Linked DNA regions of Homo sapiens: all the other regions are linked to region 2. The links are contacts of gene promoters, found by promoter capture Hi-C in blood cells and fetal thymus (Javierre and others, 2016). All regions are on one chromosome and are shown on one strand. Each heading gives the region's core, a stretch centred on a gene start or on the middle of the fragment in contact. The rest is flanking DNA. Distances are from core to core; before and after follow the strand shown.

Region 1 (5,212 bases), core at 2,323-4,822, 2.8 Mb before region 2:
ATAACAACATGGGTGCCCAGATTTAAGAATGTTACATTAAGTCTGGTTAATATATATCAAGTGACTGAAAAAATATGAGTTATCCTGCATTTTTGTTGGTCACAGTATCTGTCATTATAGTACCTTCACAGGGATCACAAGTATTTTCCCTTTCTAAATTGTATTTTTAGTTGTAGCTGTTTTCACTATAAGGGTAAATAAAATTTTGCATGTTGAAGTCAACAATCTCAAGCCAAGATGTAATGCCTGAATTAATGCCATTATTCTCAGGTTAAAAAATAATGATTTCTTAGTTTTGAAATTGCAAAGACTAATGTCATATTTTAAATCTTATATAAAAACAATTTCTTTTCTTATAATTAAACAAAAGGGCAGCATTTATTTTTTCATCCAATTGCCACATGAGCTTTGTCTTTCCACTTCTCCCACTTGTCTTCTCACTCCACATATTGAGTATGAATGTGGGGACACTGATTCAATTATTTCAGTGTCAAATTGTTTGCTTCAGCTGTCATAATGGCTAACTATATGGCAATTTATTGGATTAAAAAGACACGACATCAAAATGAATACAATGTGCCTGATCTGTCATTCACCTATTTACTATACATGACAAAAAATTGATCTGTTAGGCCATCAAAATAGCTCTAGCCCACCTTCAAATTCTACTAATCTTATACAGAATAACCTATTTTACTTAAAAAACACACTGAGCTGAAGTTCACTCTTGCTGCCGTTTCTGCTCCCCTATTCCAAGAGTCTTCCAATTAAAAAAAAAACAACAGAATTTGCCGTATTTTCTATAGCTAAGAGAAAATTATTTTAATTTATATAAAATTTTAAAAGGGATAATTTATCTCTGTCTTCACTAATCAAAGCTCAAATTTGTAAAATGGAGGTACCTTTTCTGTTAGCGATAAGTACGTTAGTGGGAGAATTGGATGGCAGTGGTTGGAACTCGGAACATTTTATTTGAATTATATGTCACTGTATACAGACTCTTCCATGTATTTTAATTCTTATAACTTTTCCAAATGTCAACATTTAGAAATAAAATTGTCCATACTTTAGGGAGGTTTGCAAGTTTATTTCTTAAAAGCCCAAAAAATACCTTTTCATCCAGTTTTGTTATACAATATGAACAAGATATCCTGTTTCACTTTCAAAGAAATGTATTTCTGATTCCACATAACTCAGAAGTAATTAAGTAATTCTAAGTATTTTTTAAAATAACAATACACAATTGCCACTAGACTTAGAGTTATAAAATCATTATTGTTAGTGTGAAGTTTCTTAACAATTTAGTTTGGACATGAATACTTGAGTGGGGGATATATTGTCCATGACATCTATAGTCCTCTGGTTTAGTTCCAACAGGAAAGGGAAAAAAATAGAATTAAAGTTCAAGAAAAATCGTTAACAGTATAGGAAAAAACAGATAAATTATACATGAGAAGAAAGAAACAATATTTTACAAGCTACACAAATCACAGTTCTGTTAGACATTGTGTTGCTCTGAAGCTCTCAATTGCCTGTAGAATCACAACCAAACTCCTTAGTAACATCAAGTGTCAACATAGTTGTTCACACTTGATTTTCATCACTCCTCCTCAAGCAACTTATATTCCCCCTCTGTCTCGCTTATATTGGACTCCATGTCACACCAACATTCCTGCATTTTTCCCACCTGGATGCTTTTTCTCTTGGCATTTTCCTTTCCAGAATGTAGCAATTCTATCAGACTATTCTGTCCTTCTCCACTGCAGGCCAACTGAATGCATCTTTCAAGGCAGTGTTTAAGTGCTCTCTCCTCTATGATGTCATCCTTGATACAGCCAGACAAAATCTCATTGATATATTCTGACAGAATTTTGTGACTTTCTGTTCTTATTCATCATATTCTAGCTTTTATTATGGTTATGCACCTTACTTTTTTTATAGATTCTAGAATCCTTAAGCGTAGAGAAGGTGCTTTATTCATTCCTATTTCTCCCCGTAATCCCAGCACAATACCATACTGATAGTAGGAGATGAAGAAATATCTGTTTCATTCAACTGAACTGAATTTACACTAACTCCTTAGGGAATCCAGTAACCAATATTAAAAAGTTTCAGTGTATTTAATAGACTTTTCTCTCCTCCCCACCCCTTTAAGTGTATTTGGGAAATATAAAACCATTAAAGAAAAATTAGAGGTTTTAAAATTAGTCATGAGCATATTTCTCAAAATGTTGTGATCAAATATTGAAGTAGATAGAAAGATAAACTGGAGTCTGCTTGTGTGTTCCTAAGAATACACATTGGATGTGATTATGAAAAATTACTAGGTAGATGGCTTTGAGGCTAATGATTTCACAAGTTATTTAAATTGTCTGTCATTTAGAAGTGACAGACCTTAGTGTTCCTTCCACCTTGACTGAACTTAAGGCTTTTATCTGAAGGAGCTCTTCAATCTGAAGAGATAAAGTTGTATAACTTTCTTAATAACCACCTGGTACCTGGTAGTGAACTGTGTTCTTCCACTGGGACAAATGCCTTCTAATATTTTATATATTCCTGGTCAGTGACTTAAAAAAAAAAAAACCTACCCAATTGCAGTCTGCCATTCAAAAGGAATATTTCTGCAAAGAAAAAGATGTGAAAATGTAGGCATTCAAGTGAAAATTCAATCCTTCACAGTACAGAGCCTCTGCGAAGTCTTTTAAATGACCCTTTTTATCATGGTGCCATGTCTGTACCTTTCTGAATAGTGAGACCTGGTAAGAAAAATAGATGTATGTATACAAGTGGTTGAGTAATGTATTACTCATATGCACTTTGTTCTTTTTGGCAAACTGACCTTATCAAAGAAAAGAAAGCTATACATTGTGACAAGCTGAGCTTTACCAGAAAGTCTGAATTAGGAGTGCAAGTCCTCTGTCATCTGGATTAAAATGTGATCGGAAAAAAAAAAAAAAAGAATCATCATTTAACCTCTTCAGAAGGGGAGATGCTGGAAAATTGACTTCCTTTTAAATCAAAACCTAAGCTTTCTTATTACATTTGGACTTAGCCATCAGAGATGATTTGCATTAAAACAATTATATTATTTCCTCTAAATATTTGTCCACTTTTTGATGTTCAAATAAACAGTGTTAGATTGTTTGATTATCTATACTTTACAGAGGACTATTATAAGAAGTTTCTCCAGGACAAATGCTGTGCCTTATTTTTTACCTCTGTAGATGACACTTAAATAAAAAATTAAATTTTTGAATTAATATTGTACGGTAATTAGAAGGCCTTAATAATTTTTTTAGGAGCTTGTCCATTCCTGGAACTAGTTTAAAAAATACTATTTCCTCATGCTCATTTAACTCATTTTAGTGAAAATATTAAATTATTTTAAAAATTAGTGAAAGAATAATGAACCCAATTCATTCCTTTAAAAATAAACAGAGACATGGAATTCAAACTTGCTCATCTAGATATCTTTTTCCTTTGTAATAAGCAACCTCTTTTCAAATGAGTACATAAAGATGGACAAAATAATCTGGAATGGATAAAGCCAAGAGGAAAAAAAAAGACATTTTACATAGCACAAAGGCACATAAAACTATTGCTATTTTATTCACAGTAAAAGAGTGTGTGTTGCTGCTGCCCAGTTACTGTGCATGTGAATTCACCAGATCTAGACGTATTTGCCCAATTAATTACTCTGCTGTTCGACAATGATGGGTAATGGTCCAAGCAGCCTGCTCCTCCTCAGATCACCGATGGAATTCATGCACGCATAATGTCCTCTCTTCAGAAAATGATCCCAACAAGCTCTATAATTATTTTTTTCTTTTGAAATAAAGGCATCGATTAAATTATATGTTAAAACAGTTTGTGGGAGAAGAATTGGAAATGAAGCAGGATCTCTCTCTCACTACTTTTCTGGGTAGAAAGCTGGAAGATGAACTTCCCCATTCTACTCTTTCCAGGAGCGAACTTCGATATTAAAAAATAATTGCTGATCAAAATTGTTCATCGTTACCCTTAATTAGTCTGTTGGTTTTCAGTAGTTTTCTTCATTAACACAAATGAAGGTGTGTTCTTCCACGTTCAACGATACATGCTATCCCTCCGTGCTGGTAAGCTTATGATGTAGCAGATCAAACAAAGAACCCTCGTGTACAAATGCACAGCAGTCCCCGTAAACTGGGCTAATTAGCATTGTAATTAGCTCACGTGATAACTAAAACAAAGTCAGAGTAACACAGGAATCACTTAGAAAGGATATCAAGTGGTGTCGTCCCCCTTCACCCGCCAGCCCTCCCGCCCTTGTTTCTAATGCTGGGTAGAGCCCGGAGCCAACCTTCTTCGCAGCTCCCCACTCCCCAGCTCCCCGGCTCCCCACCTCCCCACCTCCTGGTGGTGCAAGCCAAGTTTTCTGCCGAGGCCTGGAAGTTAAGGGATGCGCAGGGCTTGCCTGAGGTTGCCATAGCGATGTTGTTGGGATATTAGTGTGGTGCACTAAATGTTGCCAGTTAAAGGAAGCTTACAAAAACATCTTCCCCCTTTGGCTTTGCTGGAATTGGCTGACAGTTCGCTTTATAAGCATGAGAACTGGAAGCAAGAGTGGAGACTTGGGCTTCCTTTCACGCAGATTTACCAGCTTACTTAGGAGTAAATGTTAAGTATAATTTGTGGAGTTCCACTCACACACTTCTACACCAACATGACTTATAAAACAGAAATCCCTAAATGGGGCCCACATGCCTAAATGGTTTTCTTTGGAATTTTACAATGTAATAATAGCTAAGGCATCTTGCTACTTGATGTGGGATTCTTTCTAATTTTATCCAATTATGAATAGAAGTTCCAAGGCTTTATTCAGAGGAAGTGAGGGCAGAGACCATCAATGAAAATCAAAAAGAAAAATTACCATTGTAGGGGAAAAAAAAGTCAATAATTGGGATAGCACTAATCCATTCTTTAAATAACTTTGTGTCACTTAAGATTAATGTGTTTTCACTCTTTATTATATTTGATCCTTACAACTACCCCGCAAAAGAGATATAGAAAATATTTTCATTCCCATTTTACAGAACAGAAAATGGCCTCAGTGGTTCTGAATGACAGAGAATGTAATCAGCAGACAGCATCATCCTCAGGCTTCTAGTTCAGTGAGGCTTCCATTATGCCAAACTGACTGTGCTTAAGGCTTTCGTTTCTCTTAAAGTCAGTG
Region 2 (5,635 bases), core at 1,478-3,977:
AAATAAAATTTCATGACTAATTTGCACATAGATGAAAATGAATTTGTGAGTACATATATTACCTAGAGAGTATAGAAAAAGAAGAGGGTCCAAGACTGAGCCTTGAAGAAGTCCAAAATTCAGTATCTTGGTGAAAGGAAATCAGCCTGAAAATATGGATAAGGAGTGTCCAGAAGAGGGAGAAACCATGGAAGTGTTATGTCATGGAAGCCAAAGCAAAATAACATCTCAAAGACTCACTATTTTTTGAATACTATGGATGAGTACCAAGCGAAACAAAAACAAACAAACAAAAAACAGAAAAGACCAACTCCAAAACTCTGAGTATATAAAATGGATGACAATAAATTACAAAGGTTGAGAATCCCTAACCCAAAAATCCAATCTTAAATACTCTGAAATTTGAAATACTTTGAGTGCTGACATGAAGCCACAAATGGAAAATTCCACAACTGACGTTTCAGATTTCAGATTAGGAATGCTAAACCTGTACAGGTATTCTGGTGATGTGCTTAGGTACCCTGAACACATTATTTTTTCACTGTATTAATGGTATTTTTTTTTTTTTTTTTACTGTTAAGCACTTATGTGTGAAAAAGTGTAAGAAAATGACTGCTTATTAGTAGCATACAAATTCAGAGTTAGGAATGACGGTGATGCCAAACAACCACAAATTTTCCACAAGGGTGGCTGAGATAGTGACACTTTTACCTGCTGATGGTTCCAGGTACAAGAACTTTTGTGCACAAATCATATAAAATTACCTTCCGACTATGTGTATAAGTTGAATATGAAACACAAATTTCATGTTCAGACAGGTCCCATCCCCAATGTATCTTATTATGTATATGCAAACATTCCAAAATCCAAAGAAATCTGAAACACTTCCGGTCTCAAGCATTTCAGGTAAGGACTACCCAACCTGTACTTTCTAGGCATATACTTATCATAAAATGCTTTAAAACTATTTAATATAGTTGAATCCAACCCTTGAAAAGCACTTTCTGACCTTGCTCTAATGGCAATATTATAATGCTTTAAAAGCTCAAGAGTTCCTATTCAGATAACACAGATAACTAATAGCTATATGTTAAGTAGATTATTTCAACTGTTCTCTGAAGTGCTACATTATTACCAAGAACTAGGATTCCTAACTTGACAGCTATGAAACTAAAGAAAACTATCACATTTTATATCTCAAAAGCAGTTTTGAAGTCATGACCACATCTTTTCCTCCAAGGATAACAGTTTTATTTCCACTCATTTAACCAGGTCTTTTTTTAATCTTGTGTCTTTAACCTAGGGAATGTCTTTGAATCCTGTAGATTCCAGGCAAATTTTATACATATGTATATTTTTCTGGGGAGAATTTTCATTGCTTCATATTCTCAAAAGGCATCCATGATCAAAAAAGTTAAGACTTAATATACAGCAATTTACACTTGGCTATACCGACCTACTTATGTGTCTTGTTAGACAGTTTCACCCTAATAATTTGTACTTAGAACTTCAAAATTGGCTTAGTAGTGCAGCTAACTGAAAATCACTAAGCAATGCCCCAAAGCCATTTTAGATACTTGTTTCTATCAACCTCTCTCCACGATATATTTCTAAATATAATTTAAAGGTCAGAACTTCACCTGTCTCACTATCTCTCCACTCCCCTTTATAATGAAATGCAGGCAGCTGACTATCGTGTTACAAATCTGGGTATTCTGAATGATCAAGAACTGGCTGTGTCTTCAACCGAAGTGAACAGACTGACCCAGGCGATCACTCCAGTCTACTACTCAGAGATTAGAAAATACATAATATTTAAGTCATCTGGCTCAATTCTATTCACCTCTCTTAATTCTCTTAGAGCAGGAAAAAGGCACGAACTCCCTTTCAGAAACTTGGAACAAGCCTGCGTGCTACCTAGATTACGAGGGGCCACAAAACAGTGTTAAAGCATTCTTCAGCTCAGTCTGTAACTGAAAACGGTTTCCCAAACACCTTCGTACTGTAGAATGGCTGCTGGGTGTTTCGCCTTGACCTTCTTTAACTAAGCAAGGTGCAATAAGAGGGTCACAGGGCACAAGTTAAAGCTGCAAAGGGACAGAATCAAAGGCACCCTATCCGCTGCCAGGGACAATTTTGTTTTTTAAAACTTAACTACCTCCTCCCTCTGTATTCCACACGTCAAGTTTTTCTTTCCCTGCTATCGTCAGCGAAGATTACGTCTCAGAGTCTTCTGTCACAGCATGACACTTGAACGATGTGACAAGATGCCGTCAGCGAATATTTCACGCCAACATAAAGTCGTGGGAGAAATGCTGTGTTTGGGTGGGAAATTAGCTGCCCAGGTAATCCAGCAGGTAGGCGTCCTTCCTCTGAGCCTCAGTTTCCCCGACAGTGTGACAAGAGGGCCTGGCAGGGCTGGTCTGGAAGTTCTTCCCTGTCTCGGGGGTGTCCGCCACACGGGCCGAGCCCGGCCCTGCAGCCCCCACCACACCTGTGGCCGAGGCTCAGCGCCTCCCGTGAGGACGCAGCTGGGGCTCAACCCCGCCCTCCTGGACCGGGCTACCCTCACCTCCTGCCACCATCTTTACCTGTCCCCGTTAGCAGGGAGCACTCTGCGAGAAGATGGCCAAAAGGTCCGCCGCCGCCGCTGTCCCGGGTAAGTTCATGGCCGAGCCTCTGCTTTGGGCTGACCCCGTCCGCCTCCGCCTCTGCCGCCAACGTCTCCGCCTTCCGGGCCGTACGCCGCCGCCACGTCCGCAAACCTGAGATGCGTCATCGCGTCAAGTGGGCGGAGGTGGGAAGGGGCGGGGGAGGACGCGGAGGGCAGCCCAAAACGGGGGAGTCCAACCACAGGTCCACGCCCGGCACGCAGGCGCAGGGACTCCTCCGGGGCCCGGGGGCGGGTCCAATCCCCGGGCCCGGGGGCGGGTCCAATCCCCAGCCCCGCCCTTGACTCCGCTCCTTCCGTGCCGCTTCACTCCCCGAGGAAAAGATTTGGTGGCCAAGTCAGCGGATCCAACCCGCGACCACCAGCGACCTACTGGCTGCGTCTTTGTCCAGCGTCCACACTGCGCTGGCAGAGACTGTCGGGTGCACCCTGAGGACGAGGCGTGGCTCAGGATGTGTCGGGGAGCTGTCTTGCATTTTTTTCTTGCTGTGCATCTCGAATTTTCTTTAGGGTGGGAAAGGACACCTCAAAAACACTGTTGACATCACGGTTTCAGAAAATTGCGCCATGTTTGTTACCCTTTTCATGCTGAAGACTCCAGACTGCTGCAGAAGAGGCAGAATTCTGGAGAGAAATCCTTGGGGGACCGAGGACGAGGGTTGGAGGGGGTTGTCTCACCCTTCCTGTTTTTAGGTGAGGGAAGTGAGCCACCTAGAGTCAGGCCCCAGGAAATGTTTTCCCTGGCTCGAGGAGTCAAGGGAGTCAACAAATTGTAATCTAACTTATTTTGGTTTGAAAATTAACTGAGTCATTGGTAGTCACCATTGGACTCTATGGAATATTAGCTTATTAAATAAACTCATGACTTCATACATGATTTTTATCACAAATGTGTTAAATGAGTATCATAATGTGTTTGAATTTATGTATGACTTTGGCAAAAGCCGCAACTACTTTTGCACCAACCTAATTAATGAATGTAAAGCATTTTAATGAGTCTGATGTCTCTCAGTGTTGATATTAGAGACGTTGCACTTTGACAACCATGCTAACTGTTACGACAATATCCATTTTAGGCACAAATAGCTGGGGTGCAGGGTGCAGAGCAGTGCTTTTCAGAATGTCTGAATATTTATACATTAGAAAGCCTTTGAAGCTTGGTTTTAAATTGTTTTTCAAAGAGTATGTTTTTGGTTTTCTGGTAAGTGCCTCTGCAAAGGTTAGGAGTTTTGCATTGCAATAGTTTTCTTTTATTAGCAGGGATAGGCACTGTGCTTCCCAGCGCCACAAAAAAAAACTGCAGGAGAAGACTTTTTTAAAAAGTTTGTCTGAATTGTTCTGTGTGTTGTTGCCCTCATGACACCCCTGTCTGTAACCATTTATCACTGAGACGTTCTCTCATCAGCAGACAAAGGATATATTCCCTGCTTGATATGTAGGACTTCGGCTGCTTAGCCCTCATGAATGTTAATGGGAATACAACCTTCTTTCTGTCTATAGGTTACTTTTCTTATTTTAATGTCAATAGACAGCGGAATTAATGTGAGAGCCAAAGTGATAGATTTCAAGCACTTCTATAGGACCGATACCTGTATCCTTCATATAAATAACTTTCTCAAAGATATCTGCATGCTCTTGAATAGTTATTTGTATTTAACAAGGATGCAAATATTAAACTTTTTATAAAAATGGAAGAATAGGATTATATTTTATTATTAGAATATACAAAAGAAGCAGTTAGCGTGAATTTTGGCCAAGTTCCAAAAAGCCGGCCAGTAGGAACAAGCATTTTGTCTTTGAGAAAAAGGATGTCCCCAGTGCTCAGCAGAGCCAAAGGATTTTTAGTGTTTCAAGATTTCACCTGACACAGTTTCTGTTAAAACGCTATAGATGAAAGAATATGTCATTTCTAGGAATATGTGTTTTAGTCACTAACGTTTAGTTTTTGTGAGTTGCCCTAGAGTAGAAGTTGTACTGAAGTGAGAGTGTAAATTGATGCAACCTGTTAGGCAATATCTATCAAAATTTTAAATGCAACTGACTGAACTATTACATTGCTAAGTAATTACCTTAGATTTACTTACAGACACATATGTGCAAGATTTAACAGATATGTTCAGGAATGTTTGCACAGTAATAGCCAAAATCTGAAAATATTTTAAATGTTTATCAGTAGTTGACTGATACTTCCGGTACATTAAAACAATATAATGTTATACTTGGTTTCAGAAGAGTGAAGTTAATCTGGCATTTGCTGATTTATTCATTCATTTACCTAATAAGTTTCTGTTGAAGAAAAACAGTGCTTAAAAAGACAAATTCCCCTTACTTATGGAGCTTGAATGACTGAAGCGTGTAGAAAGATCTTTAAAATGTATTTTAGTCTATTTTAGGAAGAAAAAATAGGAGGTATGATATTATTTCTATGGAATAAAATTTCAAATAAGCATCCCTCATCCTACCCCCCGTACCCCACCGACACACATATACACATACACATTCACACACACATATATGCAGAGAGATGCACTTAATTTTTCTATCTGGAAAGTCACTCAAGGAATTTTAACAGTGGCTGAAAAGGACTAGACATGGCAGGGGAGTAGGCAGGAAATTTTGCCTTTTCCTCTTAGAACTTTCTATATAGACTGAATTTTTATTACTACATGCTTTTATTATATTAAGAATTAACACATTTTATTTCTAAGTAACTGGACTTGTTTATTCTGGAGCTAACCTATAGTTAACCATCCATCTCTTAGTCATTCCTGAGTCTGTTTGTACTTTGTATTCAGGCGGCAAATGTCTGGAGAAAAGAACCAGATCAATTCTCTTATAAATCAAAAAATGAAAGGGTAACAAAACATTGAATTCTTTTTACACGTCTTCTTGATTTTCCTCTTTCTGATTTCTTTCAACCCTGCTCTTTTACTCTCTCCTCCTTCCTATTATTCCTATTTCTAT
Region 3 (5,233 bases), core at 2,018-4,517, 2.3 Mb before region 2:
TTCTTCTGCAAGTACTTGGAAATAATCCCAGGATATAAAGCCTGGAAGTAACCAAATCAAATATGTTTGGAGAAATGACTCTGCAACTATAATGGGAAAAATAAATTGAAGGGGTAAAAGTAATTGGAAGCAAGGAACTATATTAGAAATCCACTGAAATAGTCCAAGCAATACCATAAAAGCTTGAAGCAAAACAGCTTTTAAATCAAAAGCAAAATTTTTAAAATTAAAACTTTTAGAGAAAAAATAAATTAGGCATGAGATTAGTAATTATCTCTGTAAGTTTCAGTAAAATAAGACTTAGGTGATTATGTAAAGATAAAATGGAAATAATGGGCATAATCATTGGATAAACTAAGCAATAAAAGAAAAATCTGACAGTTACTAGAATACATATATATATAAAATATATTTATTATAAGAGAGAAATGTACATGCTTGAAGCAAAAGGGAAGGAACCAACATTAGGGAGGTGCTGAAGAGTTAAATGTGGGAATTTAACTGCTTAAGGGTCAGAAATAGATGAGATCAAAAACATAAAAAAGTTTATCTATTACAAGATCTCATATATCCTACTGAATTGAAAGCACATATAGGTATGGAGATGTATTAATTCTGAAAACAGAGGTCTCACAGTTTATATGAATTTGATCAGGGTAGTTGAAAAACTAGGTCAACGTTCTAGATGTCCTACCTTCCAGTAGATAGAGTTATTTGAAGAACTTATTATAGATTATTTCAAATTTCAAAATTCAAAATTCTCAGATCATCTCCTAAGAACCACAATGGGGTAAGGAGTTGAGCTGTAAAAGAAAGGAGAGGAAGAAGGGACAGCTAAAATTTGTGAAAATTTTGACAAAAGAGGAACATAGAATTGATTGAATGATTGCCAAGCACCTGCAAATCTGCATGATTCAGCATATTAGGTAAAAACATCAGAAAAATGATTGATTTAGCAGGATGTGGTGGCTCATGTCCATAATCTCAACACTTTGGGAGGCCAAGGCAGGAGGATTACTTGAGGCAAGAAGTTCAAGACCAGCCTGGGCAACATAGCGAGACACCCTTCTACCAAAAGTAAAAACAAAAAAATTAGCTGAGTATGGTGGCATGTGCTTGTAATCCCAGCTATTCAGAAGGCTGAGGTGAGAGAATCACTTTAGCCCAGTAGGTTGAGACTGCAGTGAGCCATGAGTGCACCACTGTACTCCGGCCTGACAAAGTGAGACCCTCTGTAACTGTAAAAAAAATTTTAAGGGAAAAAAAAAAAAAAGATTGATCATCATGGGACATTATACAGGTTACAAGAATAGGAAAATCCAGGATGATTAAGTGGGTAATCAAAAGAACCAAAGAAAGCACCAAAATGGACAAGGTTTGAAAGAAAAATTTGAAGAATAACCACACCAAGATCAGGGTCTTCAAAGGAGGAAAAAAATGTCATGTCATAAGATAAAAACCAGAATTACCACTCTGGCAATGTGACTAAGAGGTCTAGAAACTTGAGAAGAAAAGTGTGATGAAACTATGTATGTGGAACTGATGGACCCAAACTGGGTTTTTGAAGATGGTTATTTCCAATAGGTTCTTTGGTAGGTCTGAGGACTGTCTAATCCAGAAGAGAAATTCTCCCATATAATGCCAAAGCTGATAAAAGCAGCACAAAACAATCATGAAGAGACCAGCAGACTTCCTTCCCATAGAGCATCTCTGGTATCCCACTACTGTGGCCTTCACTGGTTTTCTAACATACCTGCAGCGCTTACAGACACAGTAAACTGGACTGGAAGTAAAAAATGGGGGCCTATACTAAATATGAAATGAAAGAACAGAAGAATTTGGTAGAAAAGCAGCTAAAGAATAAGAACACCTATTGATATCTAATGTACATTTATTGGTTGAATCCTATGAAATTGCTAATACTTAATTGTCTTGACCTACAAAATGGCAATTTCATATAGTTCATCTTAATATTACAAATAGAATTATAAAACATAATTGTCAACAACTATAATTTGAACTCAGATTTATCTATTTCCAAATTTAATTGTTTACAGAATTAATTGGGTTTGTCAGCACTGTTTTACAGCATAAAATACATTTTTAATTTCCTTAAAAAGTGAAAGCATAATTTTTTTGCCATTTTCTAAATCAGAAAAACAAGAAATTTAATGTCCTTCCAAAGGTCAAAAAGCATAAATCCTCAATACCTCAGTACAGCTTTTTGACCCTTTCAAAGGTCAAAAAGCATAAATCCTCAATGCCTAGATACATTCTAAATTTTTTAAAGATTAGAACTACAACAGTAGAATGTGTGAATTTGATGTAACTATCTTAAAAAATACCAGCTCCAGACTTTCGGATAAAGATGACAATATAAAGTCATTTATCAGATTTTGATTAAATTTAGAAATAAAAAGACATTTTCCGCAGTATAAATGACAAGGCAAATGGAAGACCAACAACAAAGAGGGAAAGGAAAAAGATACTTTTTCATAACAATAGAAAACATTCTAATTAAACACAAGTCACAAACCATTTTAACATATTGGTGTTCAAATTAACAGTTGTTTATTTTAAAAGATAACTTTCCACAGTTAAAAGAGGTTGAATAAATAATGTAATATCTCATATAAAGCAATGCCATAGTCATTAAAGTGTTGACAAGGAACAAAATATTCTTAAACATATTAACAAGCCACTTAATCTCTAGCCAAGACATGCATAAATGTTTCATTACAGTACTAAAAAGTAACAAATAAAAGGTTCAATGGAAGAAAGCTTCCTAAATTCTGTCACTTTTCCTTAAGAGTATTTTCTGACATTATAGAAAATATCTCTACAGGTATGTATTCAAAGAAGTCATTAGCCAAAATCAATTAATGAAAAGACATGTTTGACATGTACAAATCAGTTTGTTTAGACCAACTGCTACTGAGTCTTCAACATTCATGTGCACTATAAAACGTTCATTGACTTTCCAACTTCTACTAAAGAACATATGCGTAACTCCAAAATAACCTGTATCATGCTCAATTGTGACCACTAACTTAAGGGTCTCTCCCCCTTGAAAATGGCATTCATCTCATTTCTTCAGCCTCCATTCCCAGGAGGGTGGGAGATGGCAGATATTAAACACAAGTTGAATAAATCTTTACCTTTTGATAAAATAAATGGATAAAGCATAAATTTTTCCCACTGTTCTTCATTGCATTCAGGTTCCTACTGTGTGTCACACACTAAACTTTAGCATAAAGAAAATTATTCACTTTAAGAGTAAAAGACAATATATTGTGCTTTCTCCTTTCTCAAAGGAAGGAGTACATCTGTTTTTACAAGACAATCTCCTCATTTTAATGAGATAGCTTTGTGTTACAAATACTTTCCTTTTAAGACCAGGTGCAGTGGCTAAAGCCTGTAATCTCAGGGCTTTGGAGGCAGGCAGATCACTCAAGGTCAGGAATTCCAGACCAGACTGGCCAACGTGGTGAAACCTCCTCACTAGTAAAAATACAAAAATTAGCCAGGAGTGGCAGCGACAGCCTGTAATCCCAGCTACTTGGGAGGCTGAGGCACGAGAATCGCAAGACTGGGAGGGGAGGTTGCAGTGAGCTGAGATCACACCACTCACTGCTCTCCAGCCTGGGCAACAGAGCAAGAATTTGTCTCAAAAACAAAAACAAAACAAAACAAAACAAAAACACCTTTCCTTTTAACAAACTAAAAATCAAAACTTTGCTCAAAGTGCACTGAGAAAGCTTCATTAAATAAATTTAATATAAAAATTTCAGCTTAATTAAATTTTAAGCCATACACAAAAGCCAAGAAAATTTGTTAAGTTAGGTAAATGCATTCATTGTGAATATTTTTAATGCATTAAATAATTAAACACACTAGGATCGAAGTAGTTCCGTCACTAACTAGCTACACAGCAATTAGAAAAGCTCTCCCTGGGATTCTTTCCTTATCTACAAAATGACAAGAGCTGGCAAATGATCTCCAAAATACCAAACAGATCATGTTGTCTATGATTGCAATATTTTAGCTAAATACACAATTAATCATTGGCATTCACAGATTTAACATTTCTAAACCACCATCAAAGCCTGTGTAATTATTGCTAATGGCAATGAATAATAATCCATTCTCATAAAGATTAAATAAGCTAATATTTATAAGACCTGAAAGGAAATCAGAGTTCCAAATTAAAGGAGTAAACCTAGCCTACCACCCATCATATTCACCTCAATTAGTAGTTTGTGGGAATTTCTCTTAAGAAAGACTTGTGAATGCCAACAGTTCCATAGTTTTAAAAAAGATCTATCTCTCAGATACGTGGCCAATTCTCTCTTTTTAAATGATTCATTTTCTTTATAACCTGAACATTTTCTTTTCAGTGGCTATCAAGAGAAAGAACTATGATGACATTAAACACTTCTGATAAGAATGATTAAGTGGGAAGCTCTCTATTAAAATCAAGAATAAGCATTCAGTAAATGTTAGTTGAAATCAAATTAGAAAATAGTTTTAATCATCAAGAACTAAATGTCTCAATTAAAGTTATGACCTGCAGTACAATGAATGTTTTTAAAGCGTGCTTATCTGTCCCTATTGACTAGAAAACATATTTTGTTGGCAATTATTTCTAATTCCAGTTATCCAGGCTCTTTTCTACTTTTTCGTAAAGATTGTGATAAGAAAAGACTGCTATATTCGACACGCAATATCCTACCCAAACAACTAAACTGTCTAGTAATAACTGATACAATGAAGCTTCATTGTCCTGATGTTAATTAATCTCACAGAGGAAGGGAGGAAGGAGTAAGTATGCATTAATTTAAACAAATAAAATTCTAGTAATAAATTTAACCATCAATAAAAACAAACCTTTCAAGAAAAAAATGTCATGCTTTCTCTCTTGACCAAGGGCGAATGCAGAAACAAATGGTTCTAGTTATGGAACACGAATACTTAAATACATATCCCCATAAACCATAAGAATTTGATCATTTATATTCATTGTAAAAAGGCCCAAAATCTCCAGAAATAACAAAAATACTCAATAATAATCAAGTTAATGAAGTTTTGGCTTCAGTAACAGAACCTTGCTGTATGACTTTTTCTTTTAGAAAAAGAAAGCAGGAAACTATGGCATTGCTTTTTCTAAGTGGTTCAGCACATTGGGGCAAATGGTGGCAATCACCAGGTAAAAGATAACAAAAATCAGCTAAGC
Region 4 (5,597 bases), core at 2,377-4,876, 2.3 Mb before region 2:
AATGCTTTATGACAAAGACGTTATTTGTAGTAATACCTATAATGGTAAAAAGTTTGTTGCAGTCTTACAGACGATAAGATTGATCAATTGTTATATATGCTTAGTGGAATTTTATCTAGCTGTTCTAAAGAGCCATTAGACTAGTCTTTCTAATGGAAAATGTTTATTGTCTAAGTTAAAACAGCATTTGAGGCCAGGCACAGTGGCTCACTCCTGTTATTGCAGCACTATGGGAGGCTGAGGTGGGAGGATCACTAGAGCACAAGAGTTGGAGACTAGCCTAGGCAATATAGTGAGACCTCTTCTCTACAAAAAATTTAAAAATTAGCTGAGTGTGATGGGGTGTGCCCGTAGTTCCAGCTACTCAGGAGACTGAGGTGGGAGGATCACTTGGGTCCAAGAGGTAGATGTTGCAGTAAACCAAGATCATGCCACTGCACTGCAGCCTGGGCAACAGAGCAAGATCCTGTCTCAAAAAATTAAAAAGCATTTTATAGACTGCATGTTTGTGTCCCCCCTCCCTCCGCACCAGAATTCATATATTGAAGCCTTAATCTCCAATGACATGATATTAGTAGGTGGGGCCTTTGGGGGGTGATTAAATAATAAGGGTGAAGCCCTGCATGGGATTAGTGCCTTTACAACAAGAGACCCTAGACAGCTTGCTTCCACTCTTTCTTTGCTCTTCACCATGTGAGGACACAGCAAGAAAACAGACAACTACAAATCAGGAAGAGGGCCTAATTTGTGCCAACCATGCTGGCACTCTTCTCTAACTTCCCAGCCTCCAGAACTGTGAGAAATAAATTTCTGTTGTTTAAGTCACCCAGTTTATGGTAGTTTGGTTATAGTTGCCCATATTAAGACAGCAGGATGCAAAATTGTGGCCAGTATGATTGCTTTGACATGAAACAAATTTTAAGCACAAATTGCAAAAAGTAACCAAAATATATCAATCCCCACTGCTGGCATTAACACTCTAAAACAAACTTTGTATATTGGGGGATTTTATTTATTTATTTATTTATTTTTTTTGCTGACCATAGTGACTCATGCCTATAATCCCAGCACTTTGGGAGGCCGAGTTGGGCAGATCACTTGAGGCCAGGAATTCAAGACCAGCCTGGCCAACATGGCAAAACCCCCTCTTTACAAAAATATAAAAATTAACCAGGCATGGTGGCACACCCCTGTAGCCCCACCTACTTGGGAGGCTGAGGTGGGAGGATCGCTTGGGCCTGTGAAGCAGAGGTTGCGGAGAGCTGTGATGGCACCACTGCACTCCAGCCTGTGTGACAGAGCGAGACTATCTCAAGAAAAAAAAAAAAGGATGAGGATTTTTTTTGTTTTCAACATGCTTTTTAACATCCACTATATTACTCTCATCTTTCTAGGCTGGAAAAAAAAATGTTTTAAATGTTATTCTGAAGTATATTGCAACCTTTAACAATTCAGTAGACTTCTGAATTTTTATTTTCATGTAGCTTACCACAGTTGTATCTAGGAATATATCACATAGCTGATTAATTGGTGAAATAACCCTTGCAATTTTACACAGGTTGTACAGTGCACATTTTCAAGGACCACTCACATACATCCATTTGATATTTTTTGGTATCAAGAAAGTCTTTAAACAATCAGTACCACCAATAGCAGTAAAAAGACAAAACTGTCTGAAAGTACCTATCTGTTTAAAACTTTAATTAGCTTTATCCATCCATTAAATAGTTATTGAATATAAAACTGTATCATTCACTCTTCTACACTCTGAGGAAATAGTGGTAAATAAAGCAGATATTGTCCCTACTATCAGGAAATTTACATTTTAGTAGTAATAAGCCATAAATTAACAAAAACAGAAGACAGTGGTAAGTACTAGGCATGAAATTCAAACATGACTATTTTAGATTAGGTGATTAAAGAAACTAAAATACCATTTAAGCTGCTGTGTAAATGACAAGAGAATCCAGCTTTGTAAAAATTGGTGAACCCTTTGCTTGCAGAAGGGACAACTGCAAAATCTAAGGCATGATCTAGCCTGGAATATTTCAGGAGCCAAAAGAAGGCCTGCATGGTTAGAGAATAGTGACTTAAGACGCAAATACTGTAACTTTGGAGGGATAGGAAAGGGCTAGATCATGTTACCTTTGAAAGACAGGAAAGAGTTTAGATTTTATTCTATGTGCAATGGAAAAAAAAATGAGAGCATTTTAATCCAAAGAGTAATATAAGATAATATATTTTTAAAATCCACTTTGGTAATTTGTTAATTGGCATAAAGAGTCAGCTTTCATGTAACATAATTACTAACATACTTGGATTTAAATTTGTCATTATTCTTATTTTATTTGTCCCACCTCTTATATGTTCATTTTGTCTTCTTTTGCCTTTTTGATTTTTTTTTTTCTTAATTAGGCCATAGCACCTGATATTCCCAGGCAGACTCTCATCCAAGTGCCAATCAGCCCCAGCCCTGCTTAGCTTCCCAGATCAGATGAGAACAGGCATATTCAGGGTGGTATGGCTATAGACCTTTTAGATTATTTTTAATTATTCCATTTTTTCTACCTCATAAGCTTGACAGATGTCTTTTAGTATCTTTTTACTGTTCACCTCAGGTATTAAAACATGGAACCTTGGTTTATCATCTTTAAGATAATTTGGTATTATACTTCTTCCAGGACAATGTAAGGACCTGCGAACACATCAACTTCATTTACTGCCACACCTCATGTTATATACATTGTATATTCTTAATATGTATTTCCTAAATTCTCAAGACATTTTTTATACAATATGAATTTACATTTCATATTGTATAAAACATTTACTTTTTCTATTGTGTTTCGTGGTTCCTGGAATCTGAGCTTCCATCTAAGACCTTATTTCTTCTTGAAGGACATACTTTAATATTTCTTCGAATATCTACTGGTAACAATTCATTCAGATTTTCTGTCCTGACACTGTCTTATTTTACTTTCATTTTCTAAGAACGTTTTTGCTGAATTAGCAGCTATTTTATCATTTTGAAGATATATTTTATTCCTTCTGGCTTCCATTATGTCCTCTAAGACATAATGTCCATTTTGTTTTTTTCTCTTCAAAGGTAATCTTTTTTTGGATGGCTACTTTTAAGAGGTTTGTCTTAAGTTTGGTGTGCCCACATGTGTTTTGTGTTTGTTTTTTTGTGTGTGTGGTTTTTTTCTGCTTCGAGATTGATAATGTTTCTTGAATCTGGCTGTGATGTCCTTAGGCTGTTTGAGAAAATTCTTAGCTCTGTTTGATCAGACATTGCTTCTGCTTTCACTCTCCTTTCTCCTCTTCTTTTGATACTCCACTTACATTTGTATTTGACAATTCACTTTGTCCCTTGTATTTTCCATTTATTTTCTTGTCTGTTTCATCCTGAATATTTCTTCTTAACTTTCAGTTCACTATTTTCTCTTAGTAGTCTCGAATTTGTTAAATCTCTCTTGAAGCATTTATTTTAGTTATATTTTTGGTTATCAGTTCAAACATTTCTACTTGATTCTGTTTTATTGTTTCCAGTTGTTTATCCAATATCTCAATCTTTTATTTCCTCAAACATACTAATCATAATTACTTTAAAACCTGTATCTAATAACTATGGTGTCTGCTATTATCTGACACTTTTCTTGTTTCTTGCTGTTATCACATTGTCTTGCTTTTATGTCCCTTATTTTTATGTTATTTTGTATTATTTATTTTATAAACATTATAAATATATAAAACTTGGCTTAGGTTATGTTTTAATTGAATGTCAGAATTGTTTTGATTGAACTGTATATGAGGAAACTATACTTTGAAGTCCAATATGATGGTATTTTCTAAAGAAAGAATTTATGTCTCCTGGCAAGACCTTTGGACACTAGTAATCTAAGATCTTCTTAATCTGGTTAGTGATAGAGACAATTAGAATATAGGCAGGTCTATTTCCTGTTCATACTTTCACAATGTAGACCTCTGAAGTCCCAACTCAAGCATGCAGAGTTTACCAGATCAGGCCCTAAACTTCAGTTTTTGTCTTTTTAATTCTATGGGTTAGAAACTCTGTTCAACTTTTCAGCCATCACCTCAGGAATCAGAAGATACTCCAGAGGAAAAGCTAATGTAAATGCTGGATTCAACAACTCTGTTTTTTCCTTCTGAATATTTCATTGTCTCTAATGCTGTCAGATGTTTGTTTTATATTTTGTCCAAGCTGAGTGTGGTGGCTCACGTCTGTAATTTCAGCACCTTGGGAGGCCAAGGCGGGACCATCCCTTGAGGCCAGGAATTTGAGACTAGCCTAGGCAACATAACAAGACCTTTGTCTCTTGGAAAAAAATAAATAAATAAATATTATTAGAAGTGAAAATGGGGATGTTGTTACAAATGCTGTGGAGATTGATGAGAAATTATGAACAACTTAATAATAAATGGGAAAATATAAATGAAGTAGGCAGTTCCAGAAAATGTAACTTTTCAAAAGCCATGTAATGGAAAATATAAATGGTGGGATGTTGATGTAAGAAATCATGATGCCCAGAGACTTTTGCCAAACCTTCAAAGGACAGATCATTACAATTTTACACAAACCATTCCACAGTATATTCCACTTATATACTGTGGAATTGGCCCTTACTGCCCTTATCAAATTTAACATCAAGGTTACAGAAGCTTAATATTACTGCCCTGATTTTATTAGGGCAGTAATGATTTGATAAGGGCAGTAAGAATTACAGCCCTGTCATATTCGCAAAGACAAAAATCCTAAATAAAACAGACCTTAGAAAATGTGTTTTTAAGAAAAGATAATAAAACATGATCAGGTTGAATTTAACCCAGGAATGTATTTTAGTATATTAAGAGATTAGAAAAACTATCTGGCTATCTGAACAGATGCAGGAAAAGAAAACTATTTGAAAAAATTAACAGACATAGATAAACCTTTGGGCAAATTAGAATTGTGTAGAACTTCCTTGAGCCAATAAAACCTACAACAACAATATTTTAAGATGAAGTATTTGAAGCAGTCCATTAGAATCAGGAACAAGTACTATGTTGGAGATCCTAGCCAGCATTATAAGGCAAGAAAAACAAAAGATTAAAAATTGTAAATAAACATAACTTAGTCTACAGATAAATTATTGAAGAGCTTTGCAAGGATTCTGAATATACTATTGATATGGTTTGGATCTGTGTCCCTACCCAAATCTCATGTTGAATTGTAATCCCCAATGTTGGAGGTGAGGCCTGGTGGGAGATTGGATCACGGGAATGGGTTTCTCATTCGTGGTTTAGTACCATCCTCTTGGTACTGTCCTTGAAATAGTTCTTAGGAGATCTGGTAATTTAGAATTGTGTGGTACCTCTCCCCTCTCTCTTGCTCTTGCTCCCCCTTTGCCTTCCACCATGATTGGAAGCTTCCTGAAGCTGCCTCAGAAGCAGAAGCCACTATGCTTCCTGTACAGCTTGCAGAACCATGAGCCAATTAAACCCCTTTTCTTTATAAATTACTCAGTCTCCAGTATTTATAGCAATGTGAAAACAGATAATATGACTATCAATATACAAAAGTGAATTGCATTTCTTTC
Region 5 (5,147 bases), core at 1,563-4,062, 2.7 Mb before region 2:
GGTTTTTTTAAATCCCCCATTGATTTGGGGAAGACATTATACTTGATTGTTGACTATTTCATTTAATTCCTTCACACAAACTTAAGTCAACTATTCCAAAAATCAAGAAAACTTTATCAACATAGTATATTAATTCTAGTTTTCCAAGTGTTTTCACAAATGTCTTCCCACAATGCACTGCCCTAAGTATTTAATCTGTGACCAAGGCTGGGTCACCAATAAGACCAAAGTGATAGCCACAATCTCCATTTCCATGTGCAGTCTCATCAGCCTCAGAACGCTTAGTTTTCCACCAGTCTCCAGTTACAAAGGGCTGCATTCCCACTTTTATGGAGTACAAGATTAAACACATAAAATAAAAAAGTAAAATAAAATAAAGTGCACTAAAACCAAATGGCAGATATTTGAATATAATTAATGTTGGACTTCTATTATTTGATTACACTAAAGATAATATGTGTCTTTGTTCCAAGAATAATATGTCTCTTTCCTCCTTCTCTTCTCTTTGCTGCTTGAGTGAATTGTTTATAAACATGTAACATTCTTCTGAAATGAACTGGGGATGGGGGAGAATGAGAAAGAATGAAATAGAGAAAGAGAAACAGAGAAAAGTGAGACAGAGACAGAGAAACAGAGACAGACAGAGGGAAAAGGAGGAAGGAAGACAGAATTCAGATCATCTGGAATCCAGAAATCTGATTCTGCAGGAAATACGATAGGAGGGCCTATACTACTTTCAAAGGTTAGCTTTAGTTAACCACAGCAACATACAATTCTATAAACTCTTCTGTCTCGGTTTCTTTCTCTCTTTCTCTCACATAGACATATGTGCACACATAACCACACACACACAGACTCATACAGGCCTCTGCCCCAAAATGAAATAAAGAGGGATGTATATTGCTAATCCTCAAAAACAACCATTTGCACCTGGGGTTGGCAATGGCACCAAAAAGCCAACCACTTTTTCTACATTACAGTTCATTAAAATGCCACTGACAAGTTATGTCTTTACAGGAAACAAAACGTATCCTGTTCCTTAAGGAAAATCCAGATAACTAGAACCAATACAAGCCCTTACCCCAGTTTGCTAAATGGGCTCAGGCGAGATGGAGGAACAGCCTGAAACACAAAACCATTATGTGAAAAATAACATTAGTAATTAATCTGATTGAATATTTAAAGCAACATTTTTTTTGAAGTCATCAAGATGTTTTTCCAATCTTCATCAGTCCTCCAGATTTTTATTATTTATTGAATGATCACACAATAATAATATCCCCAAGTATATAACCCATGAGTATATTGGTGCAGATCAAAATGAAAAAAATCTGCTAACAACTTCATCAGGAATCCAAAGGCTTAGGTAGAATTAGAATTCAAGACATCAAAAACCTCAACAACCTATTTAATCCTTTAACCACTAGGCCACACTCTCTTTCAAAATTGTTAATAGAAACAACATTGCCCTTTTTGTACAGCTGTAGATGCCCTATTGATCTGTATCACATAGCATTTAACACTGGATGATTTGGCTAGGAAAAGCAATGTTCACTGTTCCATGGCAAATCAGACAACAATGCTAAGATTTGCTATAGAACCAGGAAAATAGCATAGGAGATAGGGAAACAACAGCCACACAGAACAAACCTCATTTGCACGTTTTTCACAGCTATTTTTTACTCCATAAGAAAGCAAAGTAGTAGAGTGCAATTGTATTAAAAGTAAAACTATTTCTGCCTAACGCAGATGTGGATCATGGGAATGGAAACCTAATAAACCAACAGCTGAAGGCCACATTATTGCCCTATCCTCCTCCCCTAGCTCATTTAGAAAATGACATGTTTTTCTTCACAATGTTTTTCCCCTCCTCTCTTTTTAGTGGCAGTAATGCTGAATGCTCTTGACATAATTCTTCGTTCACCCCTGACAGTCATTTTTTTGAATACTATCCCAGCAATAAAACACCTGACCTCGAGTCTTTCAAATGGCCATTGGCTTAGGTTACCCCAATTAGCCAGACTCATTTGGAAGTATCCAGAGGAGTCAGGTGCATCACTCTTCACTAAACTCAGCATTCGGAGCAAACACATCTTTTTTTAGGTCAATTTATTTTTCTAAGGGATTTTTCTATTCCTCTATGATCTAAACATAGAAAAATAACAGGTTTAAAAAATAATCTACAAGTATGTAGAATTCCGATACCAATATTTCTGCCTTGGAAGTCATATAGGGCAACATGCCTAGTTCCCTGAAAGTTGCTTTTCAATATTTAAGGATAATTGAGAGAATTAGGTGTACAAGCATCAATGGAGAGCGATTTTATTTACATATAAGGAAGCTACATGTCTGCATAACTTAATGAAAAGACATACACACTTTGTGCACAGCATACATCTGTGATATCTGTATGTTTGGGTCAATGTATTTTTGGAGTACAGATCTCCCAAATCAATAGCTCTTTATTAGAATCCCCTTAGGTGGAGAAGAAAATGTGTACCTCCAGAGATAAAAGTATGTTTATTACATGTTTGTGTGTGTAATTAAATGTAGGATTTTGCCTCAGGAATAAAGCTTGGACTAAATATAAATAATAATTAACTGAGGCTTCTTAGAGAATTTTGGCAAAGGAAAATGGATATTTTCAACATAAATGAGATATGAGAAATTAAAGGTATATTTAAATTATACTAAAGGCAGGGCCCTTTAATTTTCAAATTATTAAACAATTAAAATTTTAAATTATTCTGAACTAAAATGCATGTTTATGTTATGTTTCTGATACAGCAATCTCTTTGCTCCGTTTATTTTGTATTTAATATTTATCAATAAGTACAAGACTTCCTAACAAATGTATAATTTTTTTTCCATGAATCTTTTAGAATTTGTGTGCGCTACACAATTTTGTCACTTGGCACATTTTTATTCCTTCTTAAAAAGGACAAACCATGAGAATCCTGATAGACTATACTTGAAATAAAATAGGAAGTCCACACAACTGAAGGTGAACAAATAATGCAGGCTGAAATGAGTATCTCTTCGAAAGACTACAAGCTTCCTTTTGACATTCAAGCAATTCAGTAAGGAGGGAAAGCGAAATTGAATTTAGCCGATGCAAATGAAATTAAAACTAAATTGGTTGTCACATCAAACTGATGTTAACTATGTAAATGTTTTCTGTTTATGAAACTACAGTTTAGAGTATATAATTCTGCAAAAATAAGAATATTTTTGTGTTCTTTTAAAATATAAATTAAAAGGGCAGATTATGAAATTGTTTAAAATCCTTGCCACTTACCCACGTAATATCAAAGGACCTATGAATCATGAAAACTGTGGACATAGAGTATTGAAATAAACATACACATATAGATATGCACATCAATACACATGCATGCTTTTCTGGCCAAGCAGTACCCCATTACATCATTGCTTCAAATGCATTCATTCTCTTCAATATTGTTGGCTGTTTCAGGTTAACTACCAAAATCATTTGCCTGAGAAGCGAGATTTAATTGTCTTACAACTACCTCTGTGAGGTACAATAGGGATTACAAGTACCCATTGATTATACTATTGGGTAGAATAAGGGACTCTTATTCTAGCATTTCTCATTCATTTTGTCATTGCATTCTCTTTGAAAGAGACCAAATGGGTCCCAGCAGGTGAAAGCAAAGAAACCTGAAAGGCCCCCTTTGATGAATGACAATACCACAACCACCCTCCCCCCCACCATTTTTGGAGATTATAAAACCTTATTAAGTCATGCCCTGTTAGATATTGATTGAGAGGGAGCTAAACTAAAACCAACAATAGCAGCATGGATCAGAGAACACTGCTTTCATCAATGGGCACTAAACACAGCTAAGCTTTCCAATCTTTTCTGGGGGGGCAGGGTGGGGGGACTTTTTTTTTTACTATTTACTTTTGTTTAAACCATTATCCTAGAAAGTCATACAATTATAGCTACTTTGTCAGTTAAGAATAAATCGTAGTTGTCTAGCACTTCATCTTTTTGAATGTAGCAGTGTATTGCACAAACAATATTATACTTGGTTAAGATTCAGGATTATTATTATGATTATTGGGGGGTGCAATTCTGGGTAATTATCATAATTATTCTTGACTCTGGGACTCCTTTGATGACAACGTTGCTTTAAAGTAAACCACTTGGACATAAAACCCAAGATATTTGAAAAGAGACTGCTGCCAGAATCAGAGTTGAAAACTCACCCATATTTTAAAGCTATCTTGATTATCAGGCTGTTTGCGTTCCTGGGCTGTCTTTTCTGCCATCTGTGAGCGCCACAGCAAACAACCCCTTTATGACAATCACCTCAGTATAACTTGAATATGTCTGCTTTAGAGGAGACTTCTGTAATAAGACTCTGTGCTAATTAACTGTCAGCCTTTTTAAAAAAATAAATAAATAAATCAGCAGACTGCATTTTAGAAAGACACTCCACCAAAAAATTCCCAAACAAGATTTAAGTTTATGTGCCAGACTGTAACTTCTACTCCATGTTTTTTCAGGCCTTCCTCTGAGTAAATCTGTTTACTTTAAATACTTCTCATGTGATAAAGGTTTTCATTTTTCTTGCCAGTTGACTACAGGTAGTAACATTTGCTCCTCCTTCTAAACAGCTACTTGATTCAGTAACGTTATCCTCCAAAAATAAAAGAAGACAAAAAAGAAAGGAAAAGGAAGGAAAGGAAAAGAAGGAAGAAAGAAAGAAAAGGAGGGAGGAAAGGATGAAAAAGAGAGAGAAAAGAGTCAGGTGTAAAAAAAACTTTTTTTTTTTTTTTTTGGCCAGAAATGGTAGTTACATGGCAAAAAAAAAAAAAAAAAAAAAAAAAAAAGAAAAAAGAAAAAGTAAATTAGGGTTGTTGCTATTGAAAACAATAATAGTTAAAAGGGCCAGACACTAAAATTATTAGTTTAATATTAAGGATAAATAATTTCTAGTTCAAGAGAAAGAATTATTTGTAGAAACAGCATTATATTCACTGAAAATGACTTTTTAAACAGTCTCTAGAAACCATAATTGTCTTGGAAGAATATAGGAATCAAGGCTTATACAAAACAGACACAGACACTTAAAAATTCATCTTGGTGAACTCTTTCCTACATACTGGATAAAACCAGT

What was found. The method cuts DNA at HindIII sites, captures the fragments that hold promoters and counts their contacts. A CHiCAGO score of 5 or more calls a contact.
Region 1: a contact is called between a fragment that was not itself captured here and the fragment with the promoter of LYSMD3 in region 2, in 3 of 17 cell types (total B cells, naive B cells and M0 macrophages). The highest score is 7.0, in total B cells.
Region 3: a fragment that was not itself captured here is called in contact with the fragment with the promoter of LYSMD3 in region 2 in 6 of 17 cell types (naive CD8 T cells, non-activated CD4 T cells, naive B cells and 3 more); the score reaches 7.4 in naive CD8 T cells.
Region 4: a contact is called between a fragment that was not itself captured here and the fragment with the promoter of LYSMD3 in region 2, in 8 of 17 cell types (non-activated CD4 T cells, total B cells, naive CD8 T cells and 5 more). The highest score is 13.9, in non-activated CD4 T cells.
Region 5: a fragment that was not itself captured here is called in contact with the fragment with the promoter of LYSMD3 in region 2 in 1 of 17 cell types (naive B cells); the score reaches 7.3 in naive B cells.

What each region holds. Positions count from the first base shown.
Region 1 is chr5:87,766,531-87,771,742 of GRCh38, forward strand. No RefSeq gene overlaps it. Among named protein-coding and RNA genes, the nearest start is that of LINC02144, 36 kb to the left of the region's middle. The HindIII fragment of the contact is 1,092 bases long and covers 3,027-4,118 here.
Region 2 is chr5:90,526,857-90,532,491 of GRCh38, forward strand. LYSMD3 (LysM domain containing 3) reads right to left here and starts at 2,728. Exons shown (of 3, transcript NM_198273.2): 1 at 2,592-2,728. RefSeq lists enhancers at 1,999-2,499, 3,125-3,384 and a silencer at 2,765-3,014. The HindIII fragment of the contact is 4,420 bases long and covers 1-3,825 here.
Region 3 is chr5:88,253,601-88,258,833 of GRCh38, forward strand. The region is part of intron 1 of TMEM161B (transmembrane protein 161B); the gene reads right to left. Among named protein-coding and RNA genes, the nearest start is that of TMEM161B, 13 kb to the right of the region's middle. RefSeq lists an enhancer at 3,395-4,048. The HindIII fragment of the contact is 977 bases long and covers 2,780-3,756 here.
Region 4 is chr5:88,271,845-88,277,441 of GRCh38, forward strand. The region is part of intron 2 of TMEM161B-DT (TMEM161B divergent transcript); the gene reads left to right. It also overlaps the pseudogene RNA5SP187. Among named protein-coding and RNA genes, the nearest start is that of TMEM161B-DT, 5.8 kb to the left of the region's middle. The HindIII fragment of the contact is 2,104 bases long and covers 2,575-4,678 here.
Region 5 is chr5:87,784,260-87,789,406 of GRCh38, forward strand. No RefSeq gene overlaps it. Among named protein-coding and RNA genes, the nearest start is that of LINC02144, 54 kb to the left of the region's middle. RefSeq lists enhancers at 2,828-3,574, 2,936-4,676, 3,575-4,321. The HindIII fragment of the contact is 480 bases long and covers 2,573-3,052 here.